Linked DNA regions of Homo sapiens: regions 2 and 3 are each linked to region 1. Evidence: promoter capture Hi-C in human tissues and cell types (Jung and others, 2019). All regions are on one chromosome and are shown on one strand. The core of a region is centred on a gene start or on the middle of the fragment in contact, and the rest is flanking DNA. Distances in the headings are between cores, read along the strand shown. Region 1 holds the start of UBALD1 (UBA like domain containing 1). Region 2 overlaps GLYR1 (glyoxylate reductase 1 homolog). Region 3 overlaps UBN1 (ubinuclein 1).

What was found. Contacts are between HindIII fragments. The study calls those that stand out against the background at their distance.
Region 2: a fragment that was not itself captured here is called in contact with the fragment with the promoter of UBALD1 in region 1 in 1 of the 25 tissues and cell types used here (thymus).
Region 3: a contact is called between a fragment that was not itself captured here and the fragment with the promoter of UBALD1 in region 1, in 1 of the 25 tissues and cell types used here (dorsolateral prefrontal cortex).

The regions. Positions count from the first base shown.
Region 1 is chr16:4,612,937-4,616,921 of GRCh38, reverse strand. It overlaps UBALD1 (UBA like domain containing 1), which reads left to right and starts at 2,034. Exons shown (of 3, transcript NM_145253.3): 1 at 2,034-2,244. The coding sequence starts at 2,125. RefSeq lists silencers at 301-530, 1,774-2,013, 2,354-2,453, 2,494-2,603, 2,684-2,853 and enhancers at 581-840, 678-1,249, 1,250-1,822. The HindIII fragment of the contact is 16,802 bases long and covers 1-3,985 here.
Region 2 is chr16:4,828,250-4,832,081 of GRCh38, reverse strand. GLYR1 (glyoxylate reductase 1 homolog) reads left to right here. Exons shown (of 16, transcript NM_032569.4): 5 at 1-103. Among named protein-coding and RNA genes, the nearest start is that of GLYR1, 17 kb to the left of the region's middle. The HindIII fragment of the contact is 6,084 bases long and covers 1-3,832 here.
Region 3 is chr16:4,866,022-4,869,949 of GRCh38, reverse strand. It overlaps UBN1 (ubinuclein 1), which reads right to left. Exons shown (of 18, transcript NM_001079514.3): 8 at 1,047-1,117. Among named protein-coding and RNA genes, the nearest start is that of UBN1, 21 kb to the right of the region's middle. The HindIII fragment of the contact is 3,369 bases long and covers 232-3,600 here.

The DNA of each region.
Region 1 (3,985 bases), core at 785-3,284:
CTTAAAATGTAAATCTCTGTAGAGGCGTGTTCTCAAAGTCCTGGGCCTAGGCAATCCTCCCTCCTCGGACCCCGAGTAGGTGGGATTACAGGCCACCGCGCCAGCCCGGGAGGGCATTTTCCATCTTGCAAGGCTATACTCGTCCTCCGGGTTTCCGAAATTCGCTCCCAACCCCAGCCGTTCTCACAGCCCCCACCCGGCTATTGCTCTTCTGTCGCCCCACGCTAGGTCAGGGCCAGGAAAAGAGGAAAGACTCAACAAATAGTGTCTCAACGAAGGAGGCTGGGGCCAGGGGGCGCAAGGAGCCGGACCAAGGTCACCTAGAGCTGCTATGATCGCGCCTTACCGCCCCCGGGCGCTCGAAGCGGGCTAAAGCCTCACTAGCTGTCAGCAACGTCAACCGGAAGCGCCATGTGCCGGTCTGTAAACACCGCCCGGTCGCCCCGCCCCCGGCTCCGCCCCCGGCCTCCCCGGCCCAGCGCCCGCCCCCGCCGCCTCTTCATTGGGCGACCAGCTTTGTTTACCTTATATGGCCAGGTCCTAACACCCCGAGGCTGTCCATTGGTCGAGGCACGACCTCACTCAGCTGACGTCACCGGGACCAAACGATGCAAATAAACCGAGGCATTCTGGGAAAGGGAGTTTGGGGCCGCTCCGGAACTGGCTCTGCCGGGCCTTGGCGCCCGCCCGCTAAGGGCCGAGATTTCCGGCAAAGAGCACGAGATTTTGCGTGGGAAAGCGGGAGAACTGCTGGGAGGGGGACCCCGAAGCACCAGAGGCTGCTGGCCCCGCCAGCCTGTCCCAGGCGCCGTCCAGAGGGTCATGGGGCTACAGTGGGGCAGGCCCAGAGCCAGGCTAGGAAGGACCCATGCCACGAGTGGGCGATGAGAGATTGAGTGAGGAGAGCTAGGAGGCTAGCTATAGGCGGTGACGTGCGGCGGAGCTTTTAAGTGGCTCATTCATTCATTCACTGAACGAGTATTTGTCGGCGCCTACAGTGTGCCGGGCCTTTCAGCCTAGACCAGCCGATTTGGGCCAAAATTCCTAGAGACCCCTCTCTTAAGGGCGTGCCTACTATTTAACACAGAGCGATGCCAATCACAGAGGGGTTCAGGGTCCCTAGGTCTTAGCAAAGACGCCTGTGGCCCGGCGTTTGCGCCCATGCACAGATCTGTATGCCCCACCTTGGGACCCCAATTCGTGCCAGAGCAGGGGCACGGGTGCCACCGAGAGCAATGAGGGCGACATGGACGTGCCTGGCTCTGGTCACGGTCTGGACAGCTGCGCACAGTAGGCACTTAGCGTTCAGTCACAGTCCCCGGGGCATGGCAAAGACGTCTGTGGCCTGGCGTTTGCGCCCATGCACAGATCTGTGGCCCCGGCCTCTGGGCTCCTAATTCCCGCCAGAGCAGGGGCGTGGGTGCCACCGAGAGCAACGAGGGCGACGTGGACGTGACTGGCTCTGGTCCCAGCTCAGGCGCCTGCACACATTAGGCACTCAGTTTTCAGACACCGTTCCTGGGCCTTGGCAAAAACGCCTATGCACGAACCTGAGGCCCCCGCCTGCGGACCTCCATCCGTGCCAGAGCAGGGGCCGGGTGCCACCCAGAGCAACGAGGGCGACGTGGACTCCCCCAACCCTGGTCACGGCCCGGGCATCCACACACAGTAGGCGCTCACAGTTCAGACACGGTCCCCAGGCCTTGGCCAAGATCCTGTGGTCAGGCATTTGCGCCCATGCACAGACGTGGCCCCCGCCAGCGGACCCCCATCCGTGCCAGAGCAGGGGCACGGGTGCCACCGAGAGCAACGAGGACGACGTGGACGCGCCCGGCTCGGGTTACGGCCCGGACATCCGCACAGCGGGCGCTCGGTGCTCAGACACGCCCCTTCCCGGGCTTCGCGTCCCCTAGGGTGCCGGCCCCGCTCCCCCGGGGCGCCCGGCGCACCGTGGGGACTACATATCCCAGCATGCCGCGGCGCCGGCGGAGCGAGGCGAGGCGCGGTGAGTCAGAGCCGCACAGTAAATATTTGTATTAGCCGGAGCCGGCTCGCTAATGGTGGACGCGTGAGGCGGAGGCGCGGGCGGAGGAGGGAGGCCGGAGCGGGCAGCGCGGCGGCGCCATGTCCGTGAACATGGACGAGCTCAAGCACCAGGTCATGATCAACCAGTTCGTGCTGACGGCGGGCTGCGCGGCCGACCAGGCGAAGCAACTGCTGCAGGCGGCCCACTGGCAGTTCGAGGTGCGCGGCGCCGGAGCCGGGCGAGGGCCGGGGCCACGGGCGGAGTGTGTCCCGCGTGGCCGCCGGGCGGGGGCGGACGGCGTGGACGCGTGCCGGCTGTGCGCCCCCTCCGGGCCGCAGACCCGACCCGCTTTCCCGACGGCGGTGCCCGGCGTCCGGATCCCAAGGGCTCGCGGCGGGCGGAGGTGGGAACCGGGCCACCGGTCGGGGATACGCCGCCCCCGCGGGGCCGCGAGTCCCCCGGGATCGAGACGGGGACCCCCCCCACCCCTTTTGTCCGGGTAACGGCCGAGGGCCGGGCGGCCCCGCGGTGCAGACGGACAGTCGGGCGGGCGGCCGGAAGGAGGACGCCCCAGGCCTCGGCAGAGCTGGGCCGGAGGGCGGAGCCGCTCCGGGCGAGTGGTCCGAGGGTCCGCGTGCCTGGTGGGCGGTCGGCGGCGTGCGCACACGTCCATGTGCATTTGTGTTTACGCACGCACCGCGCCACGGCGTCGGCCGGGCACCGGGGAGGTGGCGGACCTGCGGGCACGTTGGCGCGCGTGTGAACGCGCAGCCCCCTGGTGCGTTTGGTGTGTGATCAACGCGTACACATGTGGCGGGTGTGCAGATGCCGCCCGTGCCCGGCACGGTGTGATGTGTGTACACGGCCTGGAGTGTAGGGGTGGCGTGTCGGAGCCCCACACTACACCACAGGGATGAGCGTGTATCCCCTTCAGAGGTGTGCCTGGGGACTCCGTGTGCGCGACTAGGTGCTCTCCTGGGGCTGGCAGGGGCATCTGTCCCTTTACCGGTGCAATGGGGAGGGTGCACACGGTTCACCAGCTTTCGGGCTAGCTGGGTAGGAGGTGATGCTGCCCCGGTCTGGCACCCACTCCCCCGGGCCTCTCCTAACCCATAGGACAGTAGTGCTCCTGGCTTGTGCTGCCCAGAGGCTACCTGGCTTTCCCTAATTCACCGACCCCAGGATTAACCCCATGGTGGTTGGTATCAGGGGATGAGGCCAGAGCCCTTTGAGCTGTGCCCCTCACAGGGGTAGGGTCATGGCCTCAGCCATCCCGGTACCATCTGTGCCCAGCCGGGGACTGGGAACCTGGTTTCTCCATGAGGAGCCATCCCAGGGCCTGCAGGAGGGACTAGAAGCCAGAGGACTCTGAGGCTCCGCTTCCTGGGGACTGCAGGGGGATCAGAATGTCCCAAGCTTGGGACAGTCTGGGAAGGCAGTGGCCATCCCATCCAGATGAGTACATCCCTCTCTCCTTGCCTACTTCCCTCCTACCAGCCGTCGCGGAGGCCACTGATCCTGTGTGGTGTTCACCCCAGGACGTGGGAGGCTGCTCTGTCCCTCTGGCCTTAGTTTCCACATCTGTATGGTGGGGTTGGGGGGCATGAGTCAGCTTCTGTTGGCCAGCTTACTGCCCCCTGTGCCCCAAGGCAGCCCCACCCGGAGGAAGCTCCCTGCTTCCCTCCTGGTCTCCACAGCCCTCATCAGCCCTGTTTGTGTCAGGGGCTGGATGTGGCAAAACTTGCAAAACCGCATTCATGGCAGTTACACATCTGCACGCAGGGTTCCCTCGCTGCCTGGGGCTGGGCAGGTAGGTGTCCGGTGGGAAGCGGGCCCTGCCTGCAGGACTCAGCCCAGCCCTCAAAACCTGGCACCCAGCTGGCACCCAGGCCACATCCCTCAGCGGCACAGTTAATTGAAAATGCAGCTTTGAGGAGTGCAATGTCTGGGGAAAGACTG
Region 2 (3,832 bases), core at 1,158-3,657, 210 kb before region 1:
GAGGGTGTCTTCAGGCTCTTCAGAGAGAGGCTCCAAATCCCCTCTGAAAAGAGCCCAAGAGCAAAGTCCCCGGAAGCGGGGTCGGCCCCCAAAGGATGAGAAGGTTTGTTTTCTCTCTGCAGCTTCCGGGATTAGTGATGTCCTTTTAGTACAAGGTAGAGTTAAGCTCTACAGTATGCTTATGTAGTATGCTTATCTATACTCTGCTCATGGAGTGGGAGCAGAATTCTGTGCTCAAGAATCCTGCAGGGCAGGTGCGGTGGCTCATGCTTTATCCCAGCAACTCAGGAGGCTGAGTCAGGAAGATGGCTTGAGCCTTGGAGCTCAAAGTTGCATTGAGCCGATTGCACCACTGCATTCTAGCCTGGGTGATGGAGTGAGACCCCGAATCTTATTTAAAAAATTAAAAAATAAAGAATCCCATAGACCAGGTGAGAGACACGGCCTGGATGCAGGTGTAAAGTAGGAGCGCGAGGCAGGAGAGCAGTCCACTTGAGCCGGTGCACAAGGGCTGGCCCTGGGAGGGGCTTAGCAAGAAAGAAGGGTAGGCATTCCAAAGATGGAGGGCACAGCCCGTGTGAGGCTCGGTGCTGGTGGAGATACTCTCGAACAGGGAGAGGATAGTGAGGAAAGCCGAGAAAAAGGAAGCTTGTCCCTGGATCGTGGAGGGCCTGAAGGTCTACTGAAGCAGCGTGGTACTAAAGCGTCTTGGAGTCAGTGGGGGCCCGGGAAGGTGACTGAGCCAGTGGCAGTGTGTGCCTCCCGTGTGTGCACCAGTAGTCACCGAGTGCAGAGGGGAAAGTCTCAGAGCCAATTAGGAGGTAAGTCTAGGCGTGCATTCATAAGGGGGTAATTGCAAATGTTGCAAGCAAAGAGGTGAGAGGCACTTCAGAGGAAGAGTTCTTAAGATTCCATAATTGGTTATATAGAGGATGAATGAGAAAAAGGAAAAGAGGATTTCCATCTTCATTCCTGGGAAAGTGGTCATCACTTTCTTAAAAGTAGAGGACTGGGGATGTAGAGGTGGCTTGTGGAGAAAGAGTACCAGTTCTGTTTGGAATGTCAAGAACTTGAGGCAAGGCCTAGACAGCCTGGGAGCTTGGTGTGACCTCAGGACTAGAAATGTAGATTTGGGAGGTGAATTTGTAAAAGGGTAGTTGAGTCCGGGCAGTGGAATGGGTTTGTTTCAGGAAGAGAGGGAGAAGAGGGAAGCGCGGAGGCCTGCATTGCCACAAGAATGCCGTGCTTGGGGCAGGAAGGAGCAGGAGGAGCTAGCAAGATGAGATAAAGCAGTGAGAGTGCCTCTCTCGCCTTCTTGCTGACAAGATTTGGGGCCGGTCTTACAAGGCCACAGAGAAGAATTTCAAAGTGAAGGGGACTGTGTCAGGAACGCGGTAGGATTGTCAACAGCAGGATAAAGAGAACAGAAGCCAGATGGCTGGCAGCAACAGTTGGGTGACGAGGCCATGATGGAACATTAGACCTTGGATCAAGGCTCAAAAATTCAGACACCAGCGAGCCCAGGCAGGTAATGGAAGCAACTGTAGCTGACTGGACCTAAGAAGCAGTGGCACGGGTGCCAGGCACCCCAGCTGACCTGCCTTGGTGCTCAGAGCAGCAGGGCTGGCCATGGTCAGGGAGTCTGGGGAGGTCATGCTCTGTCCACAGGGTTCTAGCCAGCTTCTGCCAAATTGTCTGTTTTTTCTCAAGAGAAGCTGGGAAGGCCAGTTGTGGTGTCTCATACCTGCAATCATAGCACTTTGGGAGGCTGAGGCAGGAAGATCACATGAGCCCAGGAGTTCAAGACCAGGCTGAGAAGCATAGTAAGAGCCTTTCCCTTAAAAAAAAAAAAAAAAAAAAGACAAAGTTGGCCAGGTGCAGTGGCTTATGCCTGTAATCCCAGCATTTTCGGAGGCTGAGGTGAGCAGATTGCTTGAGCTTAGGAGTTGAAGACTAGCTCTACAAAAACTAAAAAATTGGCCAGGCATGGTAGCTCACACCTGTAATCCTAGCACTTTGGGAGGCCAGTGCAGGAGGATCCCCTGAGCCCAGGAGTTCTAGACCAGCCTGGGCAACATAGGGAAACCCCATCTCTATTAAAATTTTTTTTGCTGGGTGCAGTGGCTCACACCTGTAATCCCAGCACTTTGGGAGGCCGAGGCAGGTGGTTCACCTCAGGTCGGGAGTTCGAGACCAGCCTGACCAACATGGAGAAACCCCGTCTCTACTAAAAATACAAAAATTACCCGAGTGTGGTGGCACGCTCCTGTAATTCCAACTACTCGGGAGGATGAGGCAGGAGAATCACGTGAACCCAGGAGGCAGAGGTTGCAGTGAGCCGAGATTGCGCCACTGCACTCCAGCCTGGGCGACAGAGTGAGACTCCGTCTCAAAGAAAAAAAAAAATTTAATATAAATGAATTAAAAATTAGCTGGGGTTGGTGGTGTGTGCCTGTAGTCCCCCCTACTCAGAAAGCTGAGATGAGAAGATCACTTGAACCCAGGAGGTGGAGGTTACAGTGAGCCAAGATTATGCCACTGCACTTTAGTCTGGGTGACACAGCGAGACCCTGTCTCAAAAAAAACAACAAAAAAAGAAACAAAAAGTACTAGTTGGGCATAGTGGTACACACCTGTAGTCCCACCTACTTGGGAAGCTGGGGTGGGAGGATCACTTGAGCCCAGGAGGTCAAGGCTGTAGTGACCTACAATTCCACCACTGCACTCCAGCCTGGGCAACAGTGTGAGACCCTATCTCCAAAAAAAGAGAGAAGCTGGAAATACAGGTTTTTATGTGAAATATCCCAATTTTAAATGTGCTTAGTTCAAAAATATGTCTTGGGGCCATAGAAACATCTCTGTGGGCTGCCAGTGTGAGGCCTCTGGTGAGAGACAGCCCTTCTCACTGTTAGATGACCTCAGGCTGAGGGAGTGGTGAGAGCAAGGGTGGCAGTGCTGTCCCTGCATACCGTCAGCCCAAGGTTTGGAAAAGCTGCCAGCTGCAGTGCAGAGAGAACTTTATAGGGAACATGATCTAAATTGACCCACAAAAAATGTAATGTGACTTCTGAGTTTATTTCCTGGAATCCAAAAGGAATCTGGGCTGTCAGATTTTATGCTATTTCCCAAATTGATATTGTCTGGTATGTGAAGCCATGCATCTCACCGGTGCCTGTGCCACCCTGGAAAGAAATACCTTCTCGTTGGATAAAGGGAAGTACAAAGGAGAGGTTATGACGAGGGCCTGGAGTTTGAATCACGTATATAGGACCTTAGCAAAGCACCTTTGCCCCAGTTTCCTTGTCTCATCGTTAGGAATTACAACAGTACGTGCCTCCTAGGTTCACTGTGTTAGTTAAATGAGTGACATGGACACAGCACTTAGAACAGTGCCTGTGTACAAGGCATTTGATCAGTTCTTTAGGTTTGTTTCGCAGACACTGGCCGTTTGTACAGTGAGAACCCCAGAGGCCACTGCCCAGGCTTACAGGAACTCGTCTCACGAGCTCCCAATAAACTGCAGACAGCCCTTGGGTCTGAATTATTAATCTGGGGAGTAGTGTAGCATACGTTGGAGATACTGCAGGTTCGATTCCAGATCATTGCAGGTCACACAAACGTCTTGGTTTCCCATTGCATGTTAAAGTTAGGTTTATACTGTAGTCTATTAAGTGGTACAATAGCAATATGTCTTTTTAAAATGTACATACCTTTGCCGGGCGCGGTGGCTCACGCCTGTAATCCCAGCGCTTTGGGAGGCCGAGGCGGGCGGATCATGAGGTCAGGAGATGGAGACCATCCTGGCTAACACGGTGAAACCCCGTCTCTACTA
Region 3 (3,928 bases), core at 667-3,166, 250 kb before region 1:
CAAGCTCTGAAGCACTAAATTTCATAGAGAAAACATGAAAGCTTTCAAAGTGGAAAGTCATGAGTTACTTGGGGTTCAAAGGAGACACTTCCCGGCAGCATTTCTTTTTTTTCCCCCAGTCCCCACGTTTATCAACCATTATGAGGTCAGGGAAAGCCTCACCCCTCCAGTTTCTCCATCTAGATAAGCAAAAAAATATTTCTCTTCAATGCCTTGAGCTGTCCACATTTGGCACGCTCAAGCAGGTTCCTTGTTGACACAATCCTATCGTCCGCACCAATGCTCAGGTGCTCTCTGCAGCTCACACTTCCTGACCCAAGGGGCCAATCCAGGTCCCGGCCAGGCGAGGCCATGTGGTAGAACACCCACATTTTGACAACTGTTCTTACACACACAAACTCCTCAGCTGTTGAGCAACAAGCTTCCCCTGCCACAAACTGCAACCAGGAGAAAAGCGGCAACACTGCAGGCCAGGCCACAAGGATTCACTTTTCCCAGTCTGGATTTACAAATGTTTGCTCATCTGTTTTTTAACCCGATTCACACAGCGTGGTGTCTCAGAGGCTCAGGCATGTGGGAACAGCATTAGGGATGATGCACGTGGCACTAGGAACAGGAGTGCCAGCGAGCGGAACAGCCAGGGACGCCAAGCAACACCCAAGGCAGAGCAGGCCCGAGGCCACCAGGCTGTCTCTCATTCTTCAGGATTCTCAGAGACAGTCAGGCAACACCTTCTCTCTCTCCTCATCTCATACCTGCCAAGAAATCCTCTTCTAACAGGCCATGATTATCACATGTTATTAATGCCTGCTGCCTAAGATCAAGGAGGTCTATCGCTTCTGGAGACAAGTACTTGGTGTCCCTGTTGTGTTTTGATTTTTAAAAGAAAAATAACAATGAAACCATGTTAATCCAATTCTTCTTTTATCTCCTTGGTGGTCACCTTTATGCAGTTCAATTGTACTCCCACTGTCCCCTAGCTGGCTTGCCCCAAGCTCAGTAATAGCAGAAACAGACAGACAGACAGACAGACAGACGATACTCACTCTAATAGGATTCCATTAATATCCTGGGTGAAGAACTTCTGTCTGCTCTCCCCCTCAGCAGCTCTGGCAGCCTGGTGCACAGCAGACAGTAACAGCCGTTAGTGCACTTTCCCCACATGTCCCTTACGCTCACCCACAGGCACAGGAGTCATCGCTCCATAAAGAGCACCTGTCAATACAGTCACACCGCCACCTTTCCAACTCCACCCTAGTCCCAGGTTAAGTTCGCCTGCGATCAATATTCTCTTTTCAAATGCTGCTGCAGCATCTGTGGGCTGCCAGTTCTTCCTGGGACTTAAAACAGTCACAGAAAAGAAAATCAGAGTCAAAGCCATCACAATGCACTTAGCCAGAGGCCAATAAGGCCAACTAACCCCTGCACCCATACACCATCAACTACACCATTAGTTGGGATTTCCATGTATCTACAGTACAAAAATATTCAAGAACTTCAACCAGTCTATAGGATTTAAAGGCCTTTTTATCTACAAAAATAATAATAATGTGTAGCTCTAACACTTAAGGACATTAAAACTCTTTGACAATTCCTAATCTACTTATGGTATACCACGAGCTCTCTATTAGCCAGACCATGTGAATAATTAACCCACCATATTACCTATTAACACCAGATTATAGGAGTTTCAGTACAGTCTTAGTTTGCTTTCGAAAAGAACACAGTTAACACACACCCTGGATGGCAAGCTCAGAGACCCCTGAAGCAACCACGGCAGGCAGCCACGACACAGCGGGAACACAAAAAAGCAGACCCTGTGGAAGTCTGCATCAGGGTTCTCACACTTGGTTGCATATTGGAATTCCCTGGGCAGCTTGGAGCAACTCAGGCCATTCAAATCACAGTCTCTGGAAAGGAGATTCAGGAATGCACACTCTCAAAAGTGGCCCAAGTACTCTTTCAAAGCAACCCTGGGAACACTGATGTGCAAAAAGGGCTGGGAACCATTCCTCTCAACCCAAGAGCTGCTGGTCTGAAGGCTTTGGGTGAAATAAAATTTCTGAAATCAGACATGATATACAGTAACGACAGCAAACAAGGGTGATAAGGTGACTATCTAGAATGAAGGGATCAACCCCTCTGAAATTGCAGACACTGCTAACCCCTCACCATCATCTCCCCCACTCACCTTCCTCTCACTGCATCCTCTGGGGCCCCTTCCAACCACTCTAACTGCTCCATCTGCCTCCTCCACCAGCTCCTTTCCATAGGCGGACCCCAGGATTCTCACTAGAACCCACTTCTCCCAATAACTTCTTTCCCCCTCAGGGCTTCAAAATAACACAGACAATTGTACACTCAAATCTAAACTAAGCCCTAAATCCTCTCATCTAAGCTCTGGACCAGAATTTCCAGTTATCTCTGAGAAATTTCCCAATTACAGTCAACGCCTGGTATAGGCAGGGGATTGGTTACAGGACCCCCGTATATACCAAAATCCAACTGCACAGTCAGCCCTGAGGAACCTGCCTATACAAAAAGTTAGCCCTCTATACACAGATTTAGCATCCCTCAAATCAACCCACATTTGGTTAGAAAACATCTGCGTGTAAGTGGATCCACGCAGTTAAACCCTGTGTTGTTCAAGGGTCAACTGCACTTCTGTGGATGGATGACCCTCTGGTTTGCAAACTCAACTTACACCAGACCCACTGGCTTCTGCTCTTCCCCTGTGTTCCCCACTTCTAATAATTGCACTCCAACCTTAAGACCGCCACTCCCTTCTTCAGAACCCTTCAGCAGCTCTTTCCAAGCCTGGTATCAAACCCAAACTCCTTCACATGGCATTTGGGGTCCTCCACGATCTGGCCCAGCCATCCACCAACTCGCCCATCTTCAGCTCTGCTCCCTGCCTTCTCTTAGGGCATCTTCCCCAGGAGGCCGGCGAAGCCTGTTGCCTCCAGTCTGCTTCCTATATGCCCCCCAAGAGCCTCTCTTTAACCCCTTAAGTCCGGCTATCTGGCCGTCCACACATCACAAAGCTTACTTCATTCTGCTCTGTACTACAGTCCATTGTCTGCGTATCTATCGGGTCCATTTATGTAACGAGCTCATGAAAGACAAGAATGGAACCTTGGCCCGGCGCGGTGGCTCACACCTGTAATCCTAACACATTGGGAGGCCAAGGTGGGCGGAACACGCGAGCTCAGGAGTTTCAGACCAGCTTGGGCACATGATGAGACCCTGTCTCTACTAAAAATACAAAAAAAAGCTGGGCATGGTGGTGCATGCCTGTGGTCCCAACTACTCTGGAGGCTGAGGTGGCAGGATCACTTGAGCCCTGGGCGTGGAGGTTGCAGTAAGGCAAGATCGTGCCACTGCACTCCAGCCTGGGTGACAGAGCAAGACCCTGTCTTAAAAAATAATAATAAAATAAAATATAGAACTGAGTCTTATTCATCAGTATATTTCCCATGGCTGCCTGTCACATAATATTTACTAAATGTTGACTGAGTGAATGAATCAACAAATGAAGATACTACTGTAAAACGGCACGCCACAGGAAGAAAAGCTTAACACCAAACAACCAAAACTAAGTCAGAAGAAAATGCGCAAAACTCAAGCTTCTACAGATCCCTTGGCTAGGTGAAAGCCCAGAGGGGTGAAATCCACAGACGAATAATGGAAAAAAAGGGCATGACTTTTCACCCAGCCATGTGCCAATTTCTTACACTCTTGGAAACATTCAGAATTCTACCTTAGCACTTGGAAGGTACTAGAATTATATTAGTCTGGGAAAAAATAAAACTGAACTTTTTTTGCTTAAGCTTACACTGCTAGTTTTAAGATCGAGAAGCACCCTTACATTAATTCAAACTAATTAACATGTATTTCACATGCCACACTTTCAGACCCATCTACAGCT